Regions from separate parts of the Homo sapiens genome. Here regions 1, 2 and 4 are each linked to region 3. Evidence: promoter capture Hi-C in 16 types of primary human blood cells and fetal thymus (Javierre and others, 2016). All regions are on one chromosome and are shown on one strand. The core of a region is centred on a gene start or on the middle of the fragment in contact, and the rest is flanking DNA. Distances in the headings are between cores, read along the strand shown. Region 1 holds the start of OSTF1 (osteoclast stimulating factor 1). Region 2 holds the start of GCNT1 (glucosaminyl (N-acetyl) transferase 1). Region 3 holds the start of TLE4 (TLE family member 4, transcriptional corepressor). Region 4 has its middle 97 kb from the start of RASEF.

Region 1 (4,290 bases), core at 1,791-4,290, 4.5 Mb before region 3:
CCTCGTCGGCCCGGCGCGCGCTCTGGACTGCTCCGGCGGCCGCGGGGCGGGGCGGAGCACTCGGCGGAGCCGCTCTGCCTGCGTCCGCTCTTCCCGCAGCCAAGGGTGGGCGCCGGTCCTAGGAGGCGCACGGTTGTAAGCCAGACAAAAAGAACTGGGGTGCCCGGAGTGCCAGGTGGCGGGCAAGCGGTGGGCTTTTCGGCGGGGTCTTTAGGATTTGCAGCTCCAGGAAGCGAGATGTCGAAGCCGCCACCCAAACCAGTCAAACCAGGTGAGGGAGGTAAGGTAGGCGCTTGCCAGGTCCTGCGACCGCCGCGGTGCCGGCGCCTCCTCTGCAGCTTGGCAGGGAGGACCCGGCGCGCACCCGGCCCCGAGCCTGGCTTCCGAGATCGGCCCCACCGGGATGGGCGCTCTTAGTTTTGCGTTCGCTGTTACGGAGGAGGGATCGATTTTGATAGCAAGAGGATTTCGAGGATTAATATATATATATATATTTAAAGGGGAGTAGCCCTCACTTTTGCTACGTTGTCATTCGCTGAAACTTTCAGAGGGTGTGATGGCAACGTCCCATGGAAGTTTTCCGGAAAGACAGGGCCATTGATCTCCCTTTAAAAAATGTCATGAAATGATCTTTAGCCACTTCCTCTTTTCTCAGTGTTTGTCACTGTCAAGTTAGGGTTCCTGACCGGCCAGAGCGAACGGGAAGTGCAATCCCTGCAGGGTGGGGTGGGCGAGCGAGCCTCCCTCGGGACTTAAGCGTGGAGCAGCGTTTGAAATTGACCTCGGGATCTTGGGAAGAGCGTTTAGAAAAAAACCCTATACTCGCGCTCCTGGTGGAAAGAATCTAGGATGCGGCAGTGATCTCAGCTGTTGCTATTTGGAAGTGTCATTTTATCATCTCCTTTGCCTTTGCTCTCCCAAAGACGTTGGCGTGCTAAACCTGAGAGGGCTGAGATTACTAAATTCCTCAAAGCAGTTTTCTGGGCGGATTGTCCTTGTTCATTTTTGCTCTGTTCTTAGAATATTTTCTGTGATATGCAGAAATAAGATAATTGTAAAAGAAACTGACGTATTTTAATTAAAAGTTGTAACATACTGTTCCGCTCATTCATTTGGGTAGGTAATTAGAAAGGACTGACGTATTTCAATACTTTAACAACTCTTACGTGCATTCATTTGGGTAGGTAATTAAGGGAAATACAGGAAATGGAAGATAAATGGCTCCGATGTATTCTTGGGTTTTTTCTTCCCATAGTGTAATTTCGGTATAGCGAAATGCTGAAATTTAATCCATTTACGTCAAATTTTGAAGTAACTTTCTTTGCAAGAGATGAGTTTCAGTGATTACTTTTTTCCTTGATTTTCCTAAACTCTATAGCTTTCATACTTATCTAGTTTTGTTTCTTTGCGTTCCTGCAGTTGGAGTATGAAGTCCCTTTATTTGATAATCATGTACGTACGTATGTGGAATAGTGCTTCACTGAGGACTGACATCTTGGTGGGCTGAGTGTGAAGGAAGTTGCTGAGACTGGCTCTGCCCTGGGCAAAGATGGGGCACAGCTAGAGTTGGGTTCTGCATTGCATTAGATGTGGAATCTGATGAGAAATTTCCATTTTAAGTGCATATGTATGAGGTAGCTTTCTAAACTCAGGTGCAAATCAGGACCTTAAGTATCTAACAGTGCAGAGTTGTTCTTTGATAGCTAAACAATATTTTATTTATCTTATTTTTTTCTGATCACCTGCTGCCAGTTGAAATACGTTAAAGAATGCCCTTTTTAAAAATCTCTTCATGCGTATTAAATGCTGTCTATATTGCAAATGGAGGGACATTGACAGGTGTGTGTGTGTGTGTGTGTGTGTGTGTGTGTGTGTACACAGTAATGTATACATGTGGGTTCATTCACACTTGGGGGTTTAAGGGTCATCCTGTTACTAATTGTGGATACATTCCCAGGAACCTCCTTTCTCCTTCACATCAGAAAGCTTATGGTTAAACATGACAGGTGTTTAGAGGGAACTTTGCATTTTATTTTATTTTAATTTGTTTTATCTGGTCCTTGATTCAGGATAAAGGGAATTTTGAATCAACATTAATTTACAAATGAGATCCAGACACAAAGTTACCATAGAAATGGGTTTGCCAGTTTAGTAATTTACAGTGAGAAACATTACTGCCAATCAGAGTTGAAACTTTGTGTGGGCTAGCTTAGTTGAAGAAAAAAAAAAAGCGATGGCCAGGAGCAGTGGGCCATGCCTGTAATCCTAGCACTTTATGAGGCTGAGGTGGGAGGATTGCTTGAGGCTAGGAGTTTGAGACTAGCCTGGGCAACATAGCAAGACCCCGTCTCAACAGAGTACAAAAAACAAAAACAGAAATGTCCTATCGTAGTACTGTCCCACATTTACTGTGTGTTAGGCAATGGTATAGTCACTTTACACGTGTTAACACATTTGCTGCTCTCAACAATCTTATGAGATCAGTACCATTATATTGTTCCTGTTGCACAGATGGGGAAATAAAGATGCGCAGAAATGTTATTTAACTTGTCTAAAGTCAACAGTTAGAGTGGGGGATGTAGCAGGCAGTATTAAAACCCAGGTAGTCTGGCTTTGAAGTCTGCACTTTTTTTTTTTTTTTTTTTTTTGAGACAGACTCTCGCTCTGTTGCCCAGGCTGGAGTGCAGTGGCGCGATCTCGGCTCACTGCAACCTCCGCCTCTCGGGATCAAGCAATTCTCTGCCTCAGCCTCCCGAGCAGCTGGGATTACAGGCAGCCCGCCACCATGCCCGGCTAATTTTTTTTTTGTATTTTTAGTAGAGACAGGATCCAGGCTGGTCTTGAACTCCTGACCTTGTGATCCACCCTCCTTCGCTTCCCAAAGTGTGGGATCACTGTGCCTGGCCAAAGTCTGCACTCTTAACCATTTGCTATTCTGCCTTAAGTCATAGTGCTCCATTCACACTGGCGGTCAAATGTGTATTTTAGAGCTGGTGGTCAGGAAGTCGAAAGGGAGGGGCCTCTGGTCTACAGACTTTCTTGTCACAAATGCACATAAAGGTCAGCCCCTGGTTGACAGCAAGGAGAGTGGTGTGGAGCTTTACTTTCTTGTCCTGCAGGCAAGCTGCATGGATAAAAATCTCCAAAGACAGCATGGGATTGGGGGCTTTGGGGTTGTATTTAATTTTTTGGTTTGTTTAAACCTTGCCTCATTCCAAAAGGACTTCTAAAAATACACATGATCTGAGAGAGAGGAAAAAGTAAAGATAAAGCATGGTCATCTAGAGGAAGGGAAGAATAGTAAGATGAAACAAGAGGAAAAGCTAGCTTACAGACAGACCTGCATGTGTAGTAAGGTCACTGTAGATTTGGCTCTCAGCTGCAAGCAGAGAGAAAAATCTCAAGATTCATAGTGCTCATAAAATTAAAATGTGTCACTTACTCTGAAAAGTAGTTATTTTAATGGCATTGAGATCTGAGACAGATTTTCCTGTGGGTTCTCTTAAAGTATTGGAGTGGCCTGGATATCTCTAGCAGAAATACAAGACAGAACATCCTAGCCATGTTTCTTACAGCTTCTTTCAGAGCAAGATTTGGGCAAAACAGCATGGCTCAATTCAGTAGACAATACTAAAAGGAAAGGAGCTAGGTGAGTAAGGACAAAGGACTTGCTGGAAGATATTAAAAACAAGGGACATTAAGCTATAATGCAGGCTAATAGCATCTTTCTGGCTGATCAGCACATCCCCAACAGGGGGCCGATTTGTGGAAGGAGGCTGCCCAGGGAAGTCCCGGGCAGATGCTAGTGGGAGACCCTGGCCATTTTTGTACCATCTGGAGGATAGATCAGGGTTACCTTGTTTGGGTTTTTGGCCATATCCAGAATTCATTTGCTAAACAAATGTTTCTTAATAAATGTAGCTCATATATTAGGCCCTGTGCTAGACACTGGGGTTCCCAGGAACAATAATCTATGGTGTCATTCACGAGGGTCCTGAGTCTAATGGGGAAGACGTATGTATCTACAGATATTACCTAGAGTATCCCATATTTACAAGTGGATGGCTGATCTCATTCATTTTGTTTTTTTTAAAAAAGCTTGTAAGTAAAAATATAATTTTTTTATTTTTAGAAAATTTAGAAAAAGGTAAACAATAAATATATAACTAAAATATAGGAATCATCCCTGTCATCTACTGATAATCACTATTTACATTTGGTTGAATATTCTTTCAGGTTTCTTTCTTCTTCACATCCATTTCATTTCAAAAAAGAAAATAAAAACAATTA
Region 2 (6,493 bases), core at 2,170-4,669, 3.1 Mb before region 3:
TATTGTATTAATCATTACTATGACAGCTGTGTTTATCAGACACTTTCCCACATCTATAATATTAGGAGAGTTGGGTGTTTGTGATCATGAGTTTGCTCCTTGTGCTGGTTATTGAAGTATGTCTTAGAGTTCAAACTCAAGCTTCTATCTTCTGCTTTGTGAGCCAGGGCTGGGACTTAGCAAATCACATTTCCTATAAGGTTTTGCTTATAAGGGGTGCTTGAGGAGAGGGACTTGCTACTTTATAGCTGCTTACTGTTCCTGTCCATGTTACCAAGCAATGGCTCTTCTCCCTGGCTGCAGCAACAGCTGGTTCCAGTTTCTTAGATTTGTTTGTTTGTTTTAATCCACCCTCTCCCATCCAGCCTCAATATTTACCTTCAGAGATAAAAGCACCAGCTGGGTACCGCCCCCTCCTTTGAGGTCTGACTCCCAGCCAACCAGGGGCCCTCTCCTGGCTGTTAGGTTCTGATAACCCCAACACTTCCCCTCTCCCCAGCTCTGTGCATGGCAGCTGCTTCCTGCAGTTACTCTCTCTCTGTTACTACAATGTTTTTGCCTTGCCAATCTTCATGACCTTAAATTCTCTGTAAAAGTAATTGCTGTGATTTCTGTTTTCTGACTGGGCCCTGACTGATACACCCCTAAGCATTCCAGAAATACCTTCTAAACTACTTGTATAGATTTATGGGTGTATGTTATTGCAGGCATTAAAAATAAGTGGGCTGGGCAAGGTGGCTCACACCTGTAATCCCAGCATTATGGGAGACTGAGGTGGGTGGATCGCTTGAGCGTGGGAGTTCAAACCCAGCCTGGGCAACATGGTGAAACCCTATCTCTACAAAAAATACCAAAAAATTACCGGGCATGGTGGCACACACCTGTAGTCCCAGCTACTTGGGAGGTTGAGGTGAGAGAATCACCTGAGCAGGGGTAAGTTGAGGCTGCAGTGAGCTGTGATTGCGCCACTGTGCTCCAGCCTGAGTAACAGAGTGAGACCCTGTCACATACACAAACAAAATGGATTACACTTATGGTATACAGGCAGTATCCAACTGACAAACAAGATATATTCCAAAAGTTAATTCATAAATCTATTGCTTGGCCACCACCCCTGGTTAATTTATCTATTTTTATTTTGTAGAGGTGAGGTCTGGCTATGCTGCCCAGGCTGATCTCAAACTCCCAGGCTCAAGTGATACTTGTACCTCGGCTTCCTAAAGTGTTGGAATTACAAGCGTGAGCCATTGCAAACAGCCAGCTATATTTTATTTTTAATTAATTAATTTATTTATTTTTGAGATGGAGCCTTGCTTTGTCACGCAGGCCAGAGTGCAGTGGCACGATCTCAGCTCACTGCAACCTCCACCTCCCGGGTTCAAGCGATTCTCATGCCTCAGCCTCCTGAGTAGCTGGGACTGCAGGCACACGCCACCGCAGCTGGCTAATTTTTGTATTTTTAGTAGAGACGGGGTTTTGGTATGTTGGCCAGGCTGGACTCAAACTCCTGACTTCAGGTGATCCACCCACCTCGGCCTCCCAAAGTGCTGGAATTACAGGCATGAGCCACTGTGCCCAGCCCCGGCTATACTTTAAACTTATGTTTAGCAATTAACATGTCAGTATTTTAACTTACAAATGACTCAGACATTTAATGAATATCTATTACTTAATTTAATATGTTCGAAATTTCAAGTCACCAAAAAAGATTTTTAAAACTATTTTTAAGTAGACAAATTTTATAAAACAAATTATTTTTAAAAGTTTATAAACTTTTATTCCATTTACATTTACCTAATCTACTTGCTCTTAACAATTATGCTTGAATTGCTCATGAAAAATTTCATGAGATATTAAACAAAGCTAGCCATTGAAGGAGTTCAGGAGTTTTTCCCAAAATCATTTCCTCTCCCCTAAATTGTCCCTCCCCAATGAAGAGGATACACAAGCTCCTAAAATCTCAGTTTTTGTTGGGGGAGGCAGAGGGAATATTAGTTTTTCTTTTCTGTGATACCCCCTACACGAAATCTGTGTACTTTTTCTCTTGTTAATCTACCTGCAGTCAATTTATTTCATAGACTTAGTTATCCAAGCCTCAGAGAGTAGAGGGGAAGTCTTTCTTCCTCTATACCATCATCTTATGTTAATTTTTGTTGACAAATCAGGCAAGTGTCAAACATATCACAGTCTAATGGCCTCTGAGTTGGATTTTTTTTTTTTTTTTTTTTTTTTTGAGATGGAGTCTCGCTCTGTTGCCCAGGCTGGAGTGCAGTGACACGATCTCGGCTCACTGCAAGCTCCGCCTCCCGGGTTCACGCCATTCTCCTGACTCAGCCTCCCGAGTAGCTGGGACTACAGGCGCCCGCCACCACGCCTGGCTAATTTTTTGTATATTTAGTAGAGACGCGGTTTCACCATGTTAGCCAGGATGGTCTCGATCTCCTGACCTGGTGATCCGCCCGCCTCGGCCTCCCAAAGTGCTGGGATTACAGGCGTGAGCCACCGCGCCCGGCCAGAATTTTTTTTAAACAACATGGAAACAAATAAGACCTCGTTCTGTTTTCTAGGAGCTAAAAATCCAACGAAAGAAGACACAGACACAATATTCCCCTTGTTACAAAGAGAACTGTGTCAACTTTTATAACTGACACAAAGATCTGTGCTATAAGGGCGGGGAAGGTTTTTTCCTACTTTCCACAGCACTGTGGATTGTTCCACAGTTTAATTTGATCTTAATTTTTATGTGGAAATACACATGAATGTAATGAGTTCTTAAATGCTAAATTTAGGAAGCAAGGTTCGTTAGGGGAGAGAAAAAAACACCTACATGGTTATCTCTAAACTTTACATATCGAGAACCTTGGAATTTAATTTTATTGTTGTTCTGTAACATATTTTCATGTTTAAAATCAGAAAAGGCAGCATTTCTCGAGTTTCCTGCTTTCGAGGAAGGGAGGCATAAAATGTTTAAAAAGACGCCGCTCACACACCTCTTAAGAATCAGAGCACAGTGAGGAAGAGGAGCGAGGAAGCACTAGGATCGCAGCGCTACTCCCAGACCACGTCAGTGCCCAGAGGGCGCCCTCGCCTGTAGGCGGGAACCGCGAGTCCGCAGCAAGTCCCCAGCCCCGAGCTCGCGCAGGTGGGCGAGGCGGGGACGTGGTGGGCGGGGCCTAGAAAGGCGGGGCCTCTGGGGGCGGCCCCGGGGCGGGCCACGCTGGTGTGAGGGCTGCAGGCGCAGCTCCGGAGCGCCTAGAGCGCGGCGCGGGGCGGGAGCTTGGTGGAGCAGGAGCGGCTGGGCATCCTCCTGAGACTCCGGGGTCAGACGCCCACTCCAGGTAACCGGCTCTCCCTCGTGTTCCCCTGCTCGGCCGCCCGGCGGTGGGGGAAGGCTGAGAAGGATGGGTGGGAGGGAGCCGGCTCTCAGCCAGTGCCCCGTGGCCCCGGGCGGGCTGGGCTCCCCCGCGGAGGAGGAAGCAGAACCGGGGTGCGCCCGGGACCGGAATGGAGCGGCGCCTCTTCCTTCCACCTTCATTTTCCGTCCGCTCAGTGGGGCTGGGACGCCGGTGCCCCGTGTCCCCTGAAAGTCACTTTCTGGCCTCTTGCCCCTGGTCCGTGTAGCTTAGATGTCGGAGGGGTTGGCTGCGGGCGTGGATAGGCAGGGAACGAACAGACTCGCTGCCATCCCATGGGTGCCAGGGGCTTAACTTCATTTAACTTCATTGAATCCTAACGCCAGCCCGGCTAAGATGCATTTTCACCCCTACTTTACTGATAAAGAGGCCAACGCTAGGATAATAAATGACTCACCCTGGAGCAAACTATTACTAATAAGAAAAGAGACGTTAGTTTAGGGGCTCCGAAGCCTCTCCTTTCCTGCTCCCTCGCTTTCCTTCTTCTCGCGGCAGTCTAGGAAACTCGCGCGCAGGGTCTATTACGAAAACAAGTGATTCGTCTTAAAAGCATTTTACCCCCTCCTAGGTTTCTCTTTCCTCTTTTTTTTAAGTATCTCAGGCAGATTCCTCCAAGTTTTGGTTATTAGGTTTTTGAAATGGAAGAAGCCCTTGCTCACTGCTTCTTTTCTCCTGGCAGCGCTTTCTGCGCAGCACAGGCACCCTCGCCTGTCACGCCTCCCTCTCCTCTTCCCGTCTCCCAGCGTGGATGAGGGCGCCTGCAGATCCCGGCTAGGGCACGGACCGCCTAGGCCGAGGTAGGTTCTGTAGGCACCTGGCATGCTGTAGATGCATATAAACGTTGCCCTGTACACCCTTTGCCTTGTTATTTCTTTCTGCAGAAAAGAGAGTCGGTTTTTTACACATAATGGGGCAAGAGGCCAATTGGGAAGATATATGGTGTTCAAAGAAAGCCGTGGTGCCTTGAGATGAGAATGCGGCCACAGCTTTTTGTGGGCTGAATTTGATGGGTGGGAGGTGAGAGACGTGGTCTGGAAGTTGTCTCTTCGTCTGGCATTCTGCCCCCCTTCCAGAGCTGTTCTGAAAGGCCGGTTTGTTTTATAGAGGGGAGGAGGAGGGCTTAGTAGTTTTTAAAGATCAGTGTAAATTACCTGCTAGGAGCTTAGGCAATTCCAGGCAGGCCCCCCTGCTGGAGGCTTTCGTAACAGATTTCAGTTCTAGCAGGGAGGAAAACTCAGACTGTGTAGATACCTGCTTTTTCTTAAAGGAATTTTTTTCGGGCCCTTAAAATGGTAGTTTTGGGAAACTGATTTCTTAGAAATGGCAAACTCCTTTATTTTAAAATACAATATACCAAACTATGAATTTACTTTTAAAAAGTTTTATTGGCCGAGAGGTTGATATTTTTTCCATTTCATGATGAGGGTTTGACGGTCACTGCCACCTCCTCTGCCCGTCCTTCAACTTGGCCCTGTAAAGGATCTCCTTAGCCTTGGCCCCAAGTTTGTACTAGATTCTATCCTTCATTAATTATAGTTCATTCTTGATTAATGATAGCAATGCTTCCACTCACTTTTTAAGGAGTTACTCCTTTTCCGTTTGTAATTGAATTGCTTAACAGTAAGAAAAACGTTTTTCCCTAAAACTGGGATCACAAAATCCACTTTATCCACATGGACTAAACAGGTAATGCACAAGAGTGCTTGGTTGGGCCCAGGTGACTGCAGAGGAACCTGCTAAGGCTGGGTGGATATTGGCCATTTCCACCGAGTATCCATGCAGGAATTCCCATTCAGCCATACAGTGTAGGCAGCTTTTTTTTTTTTTTTTTTTTTCCACGAATAGCTGAGAACTTTTACTTAAAAATAAAAAATGTAAAGCCTGATTTTAAATATTGGCTCATATTTTTTCCTTTTTAGAACACAAAGAGGGCCGGGCGCAGTGGCTCACACCTGTAATCCCGGCACTTTGGGAGGCCCAGGCGGGTGGATCACGAGGTCAGGAGTTCAAGACCAGCCTGGCCAAGATGGTGTCTCTACTAAAAATTCAAAAATTAGCTGGGCGTGGTGGCTAGGCGCCTGTAATCCCAGCTACTCGGGAGGCTGAGACGGAGAATTGCTTGAACCCGGGAGGCGGAGGTTGCAGTGAGCCGAGATTGCACCACTGCACTCCAGCCTGGGTGACAGAGCGAGAGTCTGTCTCAAAAAAAAAAACACACACAAAGAGCCTGGGCATGGTGGCTCACACCTGTAATCCCAACATTTTGGGAGGCTGAGGCAGGTGGATCACTTGAGGTCAGGAGTTCAAGACCAGCCTGACCAACATGGCAAAACCCCATCTCTACAAAAATATTCAAAAATTAGCCAGGTGTGGTGGTGGGCACCTGTAATCCTAGCTACTCAGGAGGCTGAGGCAGGATAATTGCTTGAACCCGGGAGGCGGAGGTTAGGATGAGCAGGGATCGTGCCACTGCACTCAAGCCTGGACGACAGAGTGAAGCTCCGTCTCAAAACAAAAATCCCACAAAGAATAAAATCAAATTTGTTTCATGCATCATCTGTTTGCAAAACTCTGCCTTAAAAACTGCTACTGTACACGGTGATTATATTCTCCGATGAATGGAAAATTCTGAACTGTGATGTAGATATTGTACATTTTTCATGAAATGAAGTGGTAGAAAACAGAAATTACTACTGGAAATGATCCCTTCTGACTGTCAAATTCTGTTTTCTATGAAGTGTGTGGTATTTCAGCTATACTGTATTTTTTTTTTTTTTATAGAGCCAACCAAGGACTCTTGTCACTATTTTTATTTATTCTAATGAGAAATGTATTCATGGTTCCAGGTCAGTATGTCAAATGTCTAACTCCCTGTCTTAAAAAGGGAGTTCCCAAATGACTGTTCATATAACCATATGTGTTTCTTGTGGAGACTGTCTGTATTCTTGGCTTTGTCACTGGATTTGTGGCTTAGTGCTGTCACGTTTCCTATCTGAGGCAAATGCCATATATGTTTAGACCAGCCTTTCTCAATTGTGGCACTTTTGCCATTTTTGGCCAGTTAAATTCTGTTGTGGGGG
Region 3 (6,580 bases), core at 2,932-5,431:
TGCTAGAAATCCACATTCCAGAACTCGTTGGAAATCCATTCTCTGGGGTTCCAAGGAAAGCTGCTGAGGGAGGTGACTCATTAGAGGCACTTGCTCCAAAGCCACCTAAGGGGCTTCTGGAGGAAGCTGCTGGCTGCTGGGTGCTGCTGCTTGCTACCTGTGCTGTAGGAACCTGCCCAGTATGCAACCAGAGCCAGGAACCAGGAAACCAAACCCTTTCCTCCTGCAATGTCTCTCCAGCGCCTTCTATTGACCTAGCTTTTTTAACAGCTGGAAAATATTTAAAGGGCTCAGATTCAGTTTCACTAGGCAGGCAATGAGGATGAATTTGGAGCTAAGAGGCAACATATTAATAATAGCCACTTTTATTGTGAAATCCCCATATTCTGGCACATAGTAGGTTTAATAAATATTTGGTGAAGTAATAAATAAATGATTTACATCTAACCAAAGTGAAAAGCATGCTTGGCATATGTCACTTCAAGATTGGAGCTTTCAGGCCTAGCTTTTAACATGAAAGTTGCTGCCAAGTGCCTCCCACATGAAAACTCTGGAACACCCCACCTACCCCCCACTCTGTGGTAGGGATAAGACAGGCCTCCAGATAACATCATAGCTTGGCTCAACAGTTAGCGAGAAGTGCAATGAGAGAAGCACAGCAGAGAAAAGGAGAAAAAGTGGCCATGAGCCCCACTTACAGTCTGTGTTACGGCTAGGGCTGGGCCGCCAGTTGCTGCATTTGCATCTTTCTGAGACATTGAGGTGAGTTACATAGCTCTGCCACGTGGCCAAAATGTGAAACACATCCAAGGGCTATATTTTAATACAGAACTTAAAAAATAAAGAAACATCTTGACTTCTCTAGCCACTTTCCTGTTGACACAAACCATCGAGAGAGATTAGGGGAAAGATCCTTGCTATAAGTGATCTGATATTTCCTAACAGAGCAAAGTTTCCTCTTTGTCCACTGACCCTTTCAATAGTTCTTCGGGTTCTATTCTTAGAATTCTCGTTTCCTGTCCTGAGAGAAAACTGCACAGAATTTCAATAAATATGACCCAAATGATGTGGAAACTTCCTATAAGGATGCAATGAGGTATTCATTCATTAATGCCATCAACAAATATTTACTGAGCACCAACTACCAGACAGTGATGGCAGACATAATTTGGGGAGTTTGGAGTGCAACTGTGAACACAACCAGGTCCCTGTTCTCATGGAACTTGCTAACATTCTGGCTAAAATAGAGAACATGGAACTTCCTACAGAGGCACTGTGGGTGATTTCACAAACCATTGAAAAGCTCTAGTGGGAGCAAGCAACTAACCAACCTTAGAATAAAACATGGTTGTTGCTGGTGTTCTTAGAAACTTCGCTGTCCTCGTGTGCAAATTGTATCACTAAAGTCTTCTCACTTTTGATTCTTGGGAAGGTTTCAGGGCAGGGCTGTCTAATGGAAATATGTAAGCCTCATAATTTAAAATCTTCTAGGAACAAAGTTAAAAAAGTAAAAAGAGGCTGGGCACGGTGGCTCACGCCTGTAATCCAAGCACTTTGGGAGGCCGAGGCGGACGGATCACCTGAGGTCAGGAGTTCAAGACCAGCCTGACCAACATGGAGAAACCCCGTCTCTACTAAAAATACAAAAAATTAGCTGGGTGTGGTGGCGCATGCCTGTAATCCTAGCTACTCGGGAGGCTGAGGAAGGAGAATCGCTTGAACCCAGGAGGCGGAGGTTGCGGTGAGCCGAGATCGTGCCATTGCACTCCAGCCTGGGCAACAAGAGCGAAACTCTGTCTCAAAAAAAAAAAAAAAAAAAAAAAAAAGTGTGTGCCTGCAGTCCCAACAACACTGGAGGCTCAGGCAGGAGGATAGCTTGAGCTTCAGAGTTTGAGGCCAGCCTAGGCAACACAGGAAGACCCCCATCAATACAATAAATAAATAGAAACAGACAAAATTAATTTTACTAATATTTTTAATTGAGTTATTCAAAATATCACAATTTTGACATAATTATAAATTATTGAGCTGCAGTTTTTTCACATTAATTTTTTCAAAATGCCACATATATGTGTACTTACAGCACATCTCATTTTGAATTGGACACATTTCAAGTGCTTAACAGTCACATGTGGCTAGGTATGGAACAGCAGAGGTTCAGAAAACTGTCAAAAGGACTTCTCTGTCCTCTTATTTTGGGGATGGAGGCGAAAATATTTGCCGAATTGAAACATTCTGTGAACTTTGGCTCTGGGTTTTTAGTATGAAATTAGAGGCAGGTGAAGACCACCATAGCCTTCCTTTGCACCAGCTCACTACAGTGGCCAGAACGGAAGGAGGTTCACAGAACGTGCTAGGTTGGACATTAAGTCACCGAGTCATCCACTGAGGAAAGGGATATCATTAAGAAGAATAGTTTTCCACTAACGCCGAACCGGCGGCACCATCTCAACCAACAGGTCAAGTTACAGTAGGCAAGCACGCATAGAAATAAACGTCTAAAACCCAGCCTGTTACATTAGCCAACACTCTTCTTGACTTTTTCCGAATTTTTTCCCTGTCCCCAAGATTAGCCGCTCGCTAGAAAAGACTGCGAGCCTCAGCAGCCTCCCCTTGAACTGGGGCGCTGCCTCCAGCTGGACACGGACTAAGGATGGAAAGGCGCACTGACGGAGGCCGCCCCCATTTCCCAGGCCCCTCCCTAGGGGTGCCCCTCCTCAGCCATGGCTGCCCCTTTCTCTCCTCCTCCAGCATCTGCCCCTGGGGCCACCCCCACCTTTCCGCCATCTCTCGGGCCCGCGTGGCACCCTGCTCTGTTTTTAACGGGGATAAACTTGACTTGCTTCTCCAAAGAGCGGGAAAAAGAGGCGCAGTCTTGGTACTGATCTGGGGGAGGGAACGTCCCAGGGCGCGCAGGGGCGTTTTCTACCCGTGCCCCGTCGGCCTGCTCTGTTCAGTACCGACCGTGTTCGGGGTTCACGTGGCCCAGTCGGCAAAGTTTCTTTGGAGGTCCAGCGTCTCTGATTCCCGGATCTTCAGCCCCACCCGGAGCCCCCACGGTTACTGCCCCCCGCGACCCCCGATGGAGCGTCGGGATGCGCTTTCTCTCCGAGTGCCTCCGGGGGTGGAGGGAGGGAGGCCTGTTTCGGAACTAAATGGCAATCACAGCCCCCGCGGGGCTTGGAGGGACGAGCTCCCCGCCCACCCCGCGGCCCCGGCCCCAGCCAGCATCTCGCGACTCCATTTCTGGCTCTAAACAAGAACGGGGACCGAGTCGCGTTCACACGGAAAATTATGCCGGCTCCAGCGGCGCGTAAAATTGATGTGAACCGAACGAAGTAAGATCAGCGTGATCCTCCCCCTCTTGTCTCAACAGGGGTTTCGGCGCGTTACACAAGGCCGAGCTTGTCTCTTTAAGGAGACATTGGACCCTAATTAGTCCGCATTCCTGGCGCGGCTGCGGAGCGAGGGGCCGAAGGTGTCTGGGTTGGGAGACGGGTGGGCGGGAGGACGAGACTCGGAAGAAGATCTTTTGACCAGCCCCCAGGCTCACCGCTCCCTCCACCCTCTTTATTTTGCCGCCACCACCACCACCACCACCAACACCTAATTCTGAAGATGCAGCCAGGGCAGCAGCAACAGCAGCAGCCGCCGATTCTCCCAGCCCCACGTTACTTTGATTGACAGCTGAACAAATGTTTTCCCGGTTCGAACGCTCGCGCTAAGGAACGTCAGCCAAGGCGAAGCTCCGCCTTGGGCGGGCCATCTCCGCCCCGCCTCCGCCAACCTCATTCCTCTTCGTTAATTGGTCGGAGCTACAGGCGACGCCCGGCCCCCACGTGGGTTTCAGCTGGGTTGGCTCCTCCCCGCTGGCTTGCCATTTGTCAGCAGTGAAATGATGGGCACTAACACAGAACGGCGATTAATGTTCAGCCACCTCTGATTGGTTGGTGGAGACGCCTACCGCAACGGGGGTGGGCGGGGCGCTTGGAGAGCTCGCCAGAGCGCTCGCATGGCGGGCCGGTGATTGTAGTCAATCTGGCCGTATTCTCAGGCAGGGTCGCCCGGGGCGGACTACATCTCCCGGGATGCTGCGCGGCCGCCCCGCGGAAGATTGTGAATATGTATCAGAATGTTAATGATTAGCTGCTGCTAAATTTGGTCAAAGAAGTCACCTACACAGAGCGTGTTGTTAGAGCTGTGCTGAGCGGGTGTTTGGGTTGTTGGCTGCTTTCTTCCCCCTTTCTCACACACTTGTATATTATTTTGAGGTGGTGTTCGCAGAGTTTGAAAGGAGAGAGAATTAAAAAAAAAAGCCGCAAGCGTTTCACTCTTTTATTTTTATAATCCCCTTCAATTTGGGGTTAAAAAAAAGACAAGAAAACAGGAAGGAAGAGAAATAAGGAAATGAGATGTGGTAAAAGAAGCTAAAAGGTGCCTTTTAAAAGATCGTTGCTGTGAAGTGAAAAAAATCTCCAGAGAAACCAAAAAGCACCGCCGAGACCTCTTCCGAACCAAAGGAGTTTGTGTTTGCTTTTAGGGAAGAAGAAAGATCATTCATTCGGAGGAATAACAACCAATTAAAAGACAAATAAAAAAAGTTTGGAGTGGGACGCAGAGCGAGCGAGAGGAGCTGCCGGCGGGCGGTGGGGCGCGGAGCCCGCACTTTCCCGGCCGGGTGAGCGGCGGCCGCGGCGCCGGGCTCGGCGGGTGCGCCTCGGCGGAGCGAACGTCGGAGCGTTGCCTTGGGAGACGCGCGCCGGACAATGCCCGCGGCGGGCCAGTGACGCCCGCGGGGAATGCGGAGCGGCCCGGCAGCCGGCACCCAGCCGCCGCCGCGCGTTCCTGCCGCCCGTGTCACGCGAGACCCGGCGGGGGCCGGGACCGCCCGAGCCGCCCCTCAGACCGAGCCGGCCGCCTCCGCTGCCGCGGCCGCCTCCTCTTCGGGGTCATTAAAGCCAATGAGCCGCGCGCCTCTGCCGAGCGCAGCCAACTAAATCGGCTTGGATGATTCGCGACCTGAGCAAGATGTACCCGCAGACCAGACACCCAGTGAGTGCGGGCGGCGGGGCGCGGGCTCGCCGGGTGCTGGGGGATTCCCCGCGTCGCCCCCTGCGCACCGAGTTGTGTCTTTTGGCCGGAGGGGCGTGGAGAGCCGCCCGAAATCGGCGCCCCGCGCCGGGAGCAGCCCGCCCGCCATCACCCCCACCCCCCGGCGCGGTGGCCCTCGGAGGGGGTGCGGAGAGGCAATTGAGTTGTAGCCATTTTCTTATTGTTGTCTTTGAAGCCCCTGGAAGCCGCGCCGAGCCGTTTGCGGTCCCCGCGCCGCGACTCCTCGAGGGGGGGTGGCGAGCGATGAAGGAGGCGCGACTCCGCGCCCGGGCGGGGAGGGCGCCCTCGGCAGCGGCGCTGCTGGGCTGGCTGCGGTTTGGAAGTGCGGGGCGCCGGCCCCTCGCGCCGCGGGCCGCCGGGGCGAGCGGGCGAACGAACGAGCCGAGAGGGTGGCGGCCGCCTCCCTCCTCCCCCGGCCTGACCGCAGCCCGACGCCATGGCGCGGGTCCCCCCGACGGGCCAGTTTCGATTCCGGGTGAGGAGGGAGTGGGCGCGGCGCGCGGGTCCCTGGGTGCCTGTCTTTGGCCGGGGAGGGGAGACGGGACTCGAACCCTCGGGGTCCGGGGCGCGGGGGCCTGCGGGCGGGAGTATGCGGGGCCCCAGGACCACCTCGAAACCAGCCTCTGCCTGGGCTGTTGGGCGCGAGGAGGGTTGCGGGAGGAGAGTTTTAATCTCTCTTTGCTTGCGTGCGCGATGACCCTCACCCCCCGCTAACGCCGCATAGTAGGTTTTCTCCGTCTCCCTGCTTCGCCTGTGATGTGGGCTAATTAAATATTTTATTGTTGTTCTTCAGGCACCGCATCAGCCTGCTCAACCCTTTAAATTTACAATTTCCGAATCCTGTGATCGGATTAAGGAAGAGTTTCAGTTTTTACAGGCTCAATACCACAGGTAACGATATTGACTTTAGCTGATCCTTCTGTTTGCTTAGCTCTTGTCTCCCCGACAAATACACACAAACACTTACCCTCCTCCTTTTTTGTGGGGGCGTCACAAAGGTATTATTTTTTTTTCTCGGTGGGCAGAAAGGGCAAATCAAGGCCTCCTTCCTTAGGCAGGTGTAAATAAATTAAACATTTCTTCTACCGTAAATAAAAAGAAGGCAGAACAATCGAAACTGGGGAGACTTGGAAAACGCTGAGGCCAAACTTTCGATATTGATTTATTGGGGCCGGGAGAATGAAAGGTTGGGAAGATTCTGGGGCCTTTTGACATCCTTGGTTCTTTATTACTCCGGACTTGATTCCTTCTCACTTTTTTCTGCCATTCCACTGAAGAGCTGAGAGCCCAGGGAAGTCGGAGTGAGCGATTTCATTACTTTTATGCTAAAAAAAAAAAAAATGTTTTCATCTTATAGACGATTTTTAGACTTAGGGTGCCTTTGAGACATTTTTCTTTAGCTGGCTTTTTAATGATGCCTAATTCTTATTTCATAAATGCAAGAACCAAAACAAACCACTGAACCCGA
Region 4 (5,995 bases), core at 2,355-4,854, 3.4 Mb after region 3:
ATCTTACAGATGAGGATTGGGAGGCACAGAGAGGCTAAGCAAACTTGGAGGTAAAGCCTGGATCCAGACCCAGGTAGGTAGTGTGTCTCCAGAGTCCTTATTTGTTTGTTTGTTTTGTTATAGAGAAAGGTCTTGCTTTGTCAGCCAGGCTGGAGTGCATTGGCATGATTATAGCTCATTGCAGCCTCAAACTCCTGTTTGGCTCAAGTGATCCTCCCACCTCAGCCTCCTAAATTGCTAGGATTACAGATGGATGCCACTATGCCTGGCTATTTTTTTTTTAATGTTTTGTTGAGATGAAGTCTCACTATATTGCCTAGGCTGGTCTCCAACTCCTGGCCTCAAGAAATCCTCCCACCTTGGAGTCTCAAAATGCTGATATTACAAGTGTGACCACCAAGCCCAGCCTCAAGTCTGTACTCTGAAATACTAAATTTAACACTGTCTCCTTGAAAAATATTTTCTATAGGACAAGTCAAGAGACTGTAATGCTTTTTTCTGTGCAGTCGTTCAAGATGGTGTCTCAGAAAGGTGATTTTGTGAAGGTCATTGCTTGTATCTGCTGCCACTCTAAAGACTTTCTTTACTTCTTGGATTCCAGTTCAGGTCAGATCATCTAGCTGGTAACAAGGGCCATAAACCCTTATCATTGTTCTTAGACCCAATGTTTGTTTCTCCTGGATCCTTCTCTGCTTGGACCTGAACTAACCTATTTTTCAGTCAACCCATAAGGAATTTCCTTTTTCCACCCAGCATTCCTGTATACTTCCTCCTCCTAGTCTTGGGCAAAGGTGACTTTTCTGAGGTCAATTAGGGTACCAGGTCTGAGGTAGGTGTTCGATAAATATTTGAATAGAATCAATGGAGGCGTTTCCAAAGCTTAATCAGGCCAGAGGCATTTTTCAATATTGATGGGGTCCCTGGCAGTACTTCTAACCTCATCCTGGGTCCCAGGTGGTTGAAGACAGAAAGTGGTCAATTGGCCAAAGGCATTCATTGTTCCTCCCAAGGTGCCCTCTGAGAGAATTGAAACCCTGAAAATACTCAATAATAAGAATTACTGATTCAAAAAAAAATCAGCCAAGGGAAATAAGGCTCATCTGCAAATGTCATTAAACTGAATGCCTCTTTGTTGTACCTTGTAGATCCTTCTAGCTAGTGAGGGTGAAAGGGAGGTCCTATCAATCCTCACAGCTGCCACTGTTCATACAACATATTGAGTTGGCAATAGCTTTAATTATTGTCTCATGCTATCAGGATATATTAAAATCTAAATTATCCATTGGGTTGGAGAAAAGGAAAATGGAGGAATATGAAATTTGGAGGTATACTCTTAATACTAATCCCTTGGGACTGTAGCTTGTGTTCCTCTCATTCAGAAGTATTGACTGAATGACTGAAAAAAGAACCAACAGATCAACCAATGAGGAAACAAGTAAATGAAGAAACCAAGATGTCCCCGACCAATCAAAGGTAAAATGTTGCCATAGGCAGCTCTGCTTGTACCTCTATGCAATGGACAAACAAGGAGACCATTTTCTCCTTGTACATAGGCAGTGTCTGGAGCCAGGATGTATATGCTAACTAGTGACCTAGCTGGCCTGATCAGGAGTGGGCAGCTCCAGCAAGCCTAACTCCACAGAGCCAGAGAGCATTCATAACCTCGTGTCCAGGAGAGAGTGCCAGCCGATAGAAGCCAGAAGTGTGCTTCTGCAATGAATCATCAGGATAAAGGAGGTTGGTGGTAGGTATTGGAAATCAAGAGAAAGAGCCAAGGTGAAGATCCAAGAGGTTAGAGAGCCACAGAAGGTTAGCCAAGCAGATTAGAGTAGGTGGGCAGGAGGACAGCCTGTGCCAGCACCGGAGACCACAAGTATTTTGCATGGCTGGGCTTTCTTTTGGCTTTGTGTTTATTTTTTTAAATGGGTAATACATATACATGGAGCCAATCTCAGAAGGTTCCAAAAGGGATACCAAGCAGTAGTCGCATTCTCACTCTTGTCTTCCAATTCCCCAGTTCTCCTCTCCTGAATTTCTTCTGTATCCTTCCATAGATAGCCCATGCATAAGTAAGCATATGTGTATCCACAACCTTTATACCACAAACCATATCATAGTATACATATCAGTCTGTAGCTTTCTTTTTCACTTGACAATACATCTTAGACATGGTTCCAGAGCAGTATATGTAAAGCTGGTTCATTCTTCCCTGAGGCCTTATAATACTCCATTGTATAGGTGTACCATAATATATTTAACTAATTTTTAAATGAATATGTAGGTTGTGTTCCAATAACGCTGCAATGATAAGGCATTTTGGATATGTGTAGACATATCTGTGAAAGTGAAGCTGCTGGGTTACAGAATATGTGCACCTTAAATTGTGATAGATATTGCCAAGTCACCCCCTGAATGGGTGATATCAGTTAATACTCCAAACTATGCATGTGCCTGTTTCTCCCAAATACTTCCCAACAAAATTTACTATCAAACTTTTTGCAATTGCCAAGTTAATCAGTAGGAAAAGTGATATATCATTATGGTTTTAATATGCATTTTTCTTATAATGTATGATATTGACAAACTTCTTATGATAAAAATTGACACAGATGTAAATTTATTAGGACCCATTTGAGAGGCCTCCAATCAAAGGGGCCAATCAATATTCTGGGAACCAACCAAGAGACCTGGGTTTGAAGTTTGAGATACGGTCTCACTGATGAAGCACCTACAATGTGCAGATATATTTGCTCCTCAGGTAGAATTTTGCTGTTCCACAATGCTGTTATTTATCAGAAACAACCCTGATTAAATGATTTTTCTAAAGCTACCTTTCTGATAAGGGGAAGAGCTATATCCATGTCCCAGTCAACTGGACTCCACACCCTGTGCTTTTTCCGAGTCCTAGTTTTACTAACTGCTACCTTGGAACCAAAAGCCCAGTAGATCTGGGATCAGAAAACCTGGGTATGTACATCAGTCTGCTACTCACAGGCCATGTGACCTTGAGTAAATAACTTAACCTCTTTGGTGGGGTCTCAGTTTTCTCAACTAATTTATCAAAAAAACTGTAGTTGTTACCTCAAAGTCCTTTCAGGTCTCAGACTTTTAAGACTTTGTAATATGGCAAAAATTCTGATGTCTAATGGGTAAAAGAAAAGCAAGCGTCCTGGATTATCCAAATGCATCATCTCCCCATCTCCTAAAAATTGAGAGCTGATATATTTAAACACCTCATTTAGAAAATGACTGCCACCTTAAGCTCCTTCCTAGACACCACCAGCACTGTGAAGGAGGCACTTTTCTGCTTTTGTTCATCTCTTTAGAACTGTTCCTCAATCACTCTTTTTTCTTTTCTCTTTTTTTGCTTTTTCCCATTACCCATGTACAGAGTCACCTTAGGCTAAGGAAACACAACTGAAGAGAAACTAATTTTCTTCTAGACTACGGTTCATCTGAGTGTCGTTTCTTTGTTTTTAACATTTTGAAGCGGTCTGCAGCCTCCTCTCCAAAGTAAGGACAGGCTGGTGAGAGGAAGCGGAGACAGAGCTTCCCAATGGCCCAAGGATCCCAGGTGAGCAAATCCCTTTAGAGAATAAAGTTGTCATGCTCTTTAATGGTGAGATTCTTTAAGAAGAAAAAACAAATCTCTGCAAATTGTTGCTCACATTTGTATCACTCCTTGACCTAAGTAGCACATACTTCACTTCATTTGGTGTTCATTTAGTGTTCTATGCAGAGAATGGGGAAAACAGCCTGGCAAATAACTAGAAAGAACATCCACTCTGATCATCGGCCAGGTGTCAAGCAATGTGCAAAGCACTTAACTTTCTTTACTTTTTAATCTAAATAGTCTTTAATATAGATAAGATAGATATGGAAACTAAAACTCAAGATATGTTTGTAAGTTGCCCAGGGTCACAGAATTAGGAAGTGGCAGAAGTGGAATTCAAGGCCAGGTCTGTTAGATTCCTAAGCCCATCTGTATACAATATTGGGTACAATGACCTCTGTTCCAACTCAGCAATTCCTAGGTCTTAAAAGTCATCTAGACATGAATTCTCAAGGGGGGGTGATATTGTCCCCAAGAGGGGAGAATTGTTTCTCGGGGGGGAGGGTGAGAGGAACCTTACTTTTTAAATGTATAAAACACAGCTATGTGCACAGTTCATAAACATATATGTAATATATCTGTGGCATTAACATTTCCTGGGCAGAGGACAATTAGGAAAATATGCCTAAAAAGACTTTTTTGTGGGAAAAAGTTTTAAAACTTGAGAAACACTGATCTAGACATATCCCTGATGCAGCTCTTGGGTGCCTCATGCTGTGTCATGTTGCCTCCTGTTTGTCTACTTGTCTCTTTCCATCAGACATATAAACCTCTTCAGAATTGAGGACTGCTAAATTTGACATTACCAATCGGTGGGCAGCTACTTTTAAAATTGCAGCCACTCCTAGTTATTTTACAAAGAAGAGGTTGGAAAGCATTCAGATTGGGCTCTATCAAGGTGTGAGCCCACCTCCAAGTGTCCACTAGGCTGAAGCGGGCTGGCCACCACCATCTGATTGGGTTCCAACCATCTCCTCATCCTGCTCTTGCTGCTCCTTGCTCTTCCGCTCTCCCCAGACTTCCACTCTCCTTACTCCATCTTCTTTTTCATCTCCTCTAAAGTTCATAAAGGAAATGGTCTGACCTTGAATTTAGAGGATGAGATCCACCTGAGTACGTTCACTGGCACAAAAGGTGAGGCCACTGTGGTTCCCCACCTCCCTTCACCAGCTCAGCTCTCCTGTGTAAAATAAGATCTGGGGAAATGACTACACCTTAATTCAGCCCAACCTGAATATGTAAAGTACACGAAAGAAGCCGGGAAGTGTGGATGCTGAAGAAATAGCGTATGATCCAGGGCTCTAAGGAGCTTATGCTCTCTGCACCCCGTTTTTCCCTAAACGTACGTTCAGACAGAACTTTCTTACCTTTTCCTGATTTCTTCAGTTTTCTTCATCTCGGTTAAGGATCCCAAAGCAACTCAGAACAGAACCCTAAATATTTTCGTAATTCCTTAAATAATTAAAAAAGTGGCCTTCAGTTCTCCGATGCCAATCTCAATTTCTACCTACTGGAAACTGTAAAGATTTTTAACATTTCCTTTCCTTGCAGTTTTTCCTGCAATCAGTTTCCTCATTGAAAGTGTAACAGGTGTATATAGCCATGGAGGCCACCTGCCCTTGACTGCTGTTCTGAAAGTGGAGACACCTGTGGGTAAAGTGGAGCGATCACAAAAGCTCTTAATGTTACTGCTAGACTGTGAGATCCTAGAGGGCAGCAGCTGTGTCTTGTTCATCTGTTTGGTCCTCTCCTCCCTACTACACACACACACACACACACACACACACACACACACACACACACACACACACACACACACACACTTGAAGCAACAGAAATTGATCCTCTCCCAGTTCTGTAAATCAGAAGTTTAAAATCAAGGTGTTGGCAGGGCCAGGCTTCCCTGAAGGCTCCAGGGGAGAATCCGTTCGATCCCTTTCTCTTGGCTGTTGGTGTTACTGGCAGCCCTTGGCATTCCTTGTCTTGAAGACACATCACTCCAGTCTGTCACATGGTGTCCTCCCTGTGTGTGCCTCTACATGTTTTTCCCTCTTTATGTATGGACACCAGTCACATAGTGTTAGGGCCCACCCTAGTCAAATATGACCTCATTGTATTTTGAGGACATCTTCAAAACCCTTGCTTCCAAATTAGGTCGTATTCACTGCTACTGGAATTTAGGTTTTGGCATATATTTTAGGAAATATAATTCAATTTGCAACAGTGCCTTAATGAAAAAATGAGTAAATAAGTACATACTTCACAGAAGAAAGGAGAAAAACAGGGAAGGAGGGAGGGAAGGAGGGAAAGAAGGAAGAAAGGAAGGAAGAAGGGAGGGAGGGAGGGAAGGAAGGAAGGCAATTTTTCATAATATTTAAAATA

Evidence for each region. The method cuts DNA at HindIII sites, captures the fragments that hold promoters and counts their contacts. A CHiCAGO score of 5 or more calls a contact.
Region 1: a fragment that was not itself captured here is called in contact with the fragment with the promoter of TLE4 in region 3 in 1 of 17 cell types (neutrophils); the score reaches 5.7 in neutrophils.
Region 2: a fragment that was not itself captured here is called in contact with the fragment with the promoter of TLE4 in region 3 in 1 of 17 cell types (neutrophils); the score reaches 5.5 in neutrophils.
Region 4: a contact is called between a fragment that was not itself captured here and the fragment with the promoter of TLE4 in region 3, in 1 of 17 cell types (fetal thymus). The highest score is 8.1, in fetal thymus.

The regions. Positions count from the first base shown.
Region 1 is chr9:75,088,456-75,092,745 of GRCh38, forward strand. It overlaps OSTF1 (osteoclast stimulating factor 1), which reads left to right and starts at 59. Exons shown (of 10, transcript NM_012383.5): 1 at 59-271. The coding sequence starts at 238. RefSeq lists silencers at 1-169, 360-449. The HindIII fragment of the contact is 2,112 bases long and covers 1,985-4,096 here.
Region 2 is chr9:76,455,968-76,462,460 of GRCh38, forward strand. It overlaps GCNT1 (glucosaminyl (N-acetyl) transferase 1), which reads left to right and starts at 3,215. Exons shown (of 4, transcript NM_001490.5): 1 at 3,215-3,338; 2 at 4,093-4,210. RefSeq lists silencers at 3,000-3,539, 4,530-4,599 and an enhancer at 4,150-4,259. The HindIII fragment of the contact is 6,561 bases long and covers 140-6,493 here.
Region 3 is chr9:79,567,784-79,574,363 of GRCh38, forward strand. TLE4 (TLE family member 4, transcriptional corepressor) reads left to right here and starts at 4,182. Exons shown (of 20, transcript NM_007005.6): 1 at 4,182-5,052; 2 at 5,906-6,003. The coding sequence starts at 5,008. LNCARSR (lncRNA regulator of Akt signaling associated with HCC and RCC) reads right to left here and starts at 169. Exons shown (of 3, transcript NR_184113.1): 1 at 1-169. RefSeq lists silencers at 2,654-2,703, 4,614-4,733, 4,794-4,953, 5,064-5,533, 5,554-5,793 and enhancers at 4,064-4,193, 4,204-4,253, 4,294-4,383, 5,111-5,723. The HindIII fragment of the contact is 12,449 bases long and covers 1-6,580 here.
Region 4 is chr9:82,962,935-82,968,929 of GRCh38, forward strand. No RefSeq gene overlaps it. Among named protein-coding and RNA genes, the nearest start is that of RASEF, 97 kb to the right of the region's middle. The HindIII fragment of the contact is 5,454 bases long and covers 878-5,995 here.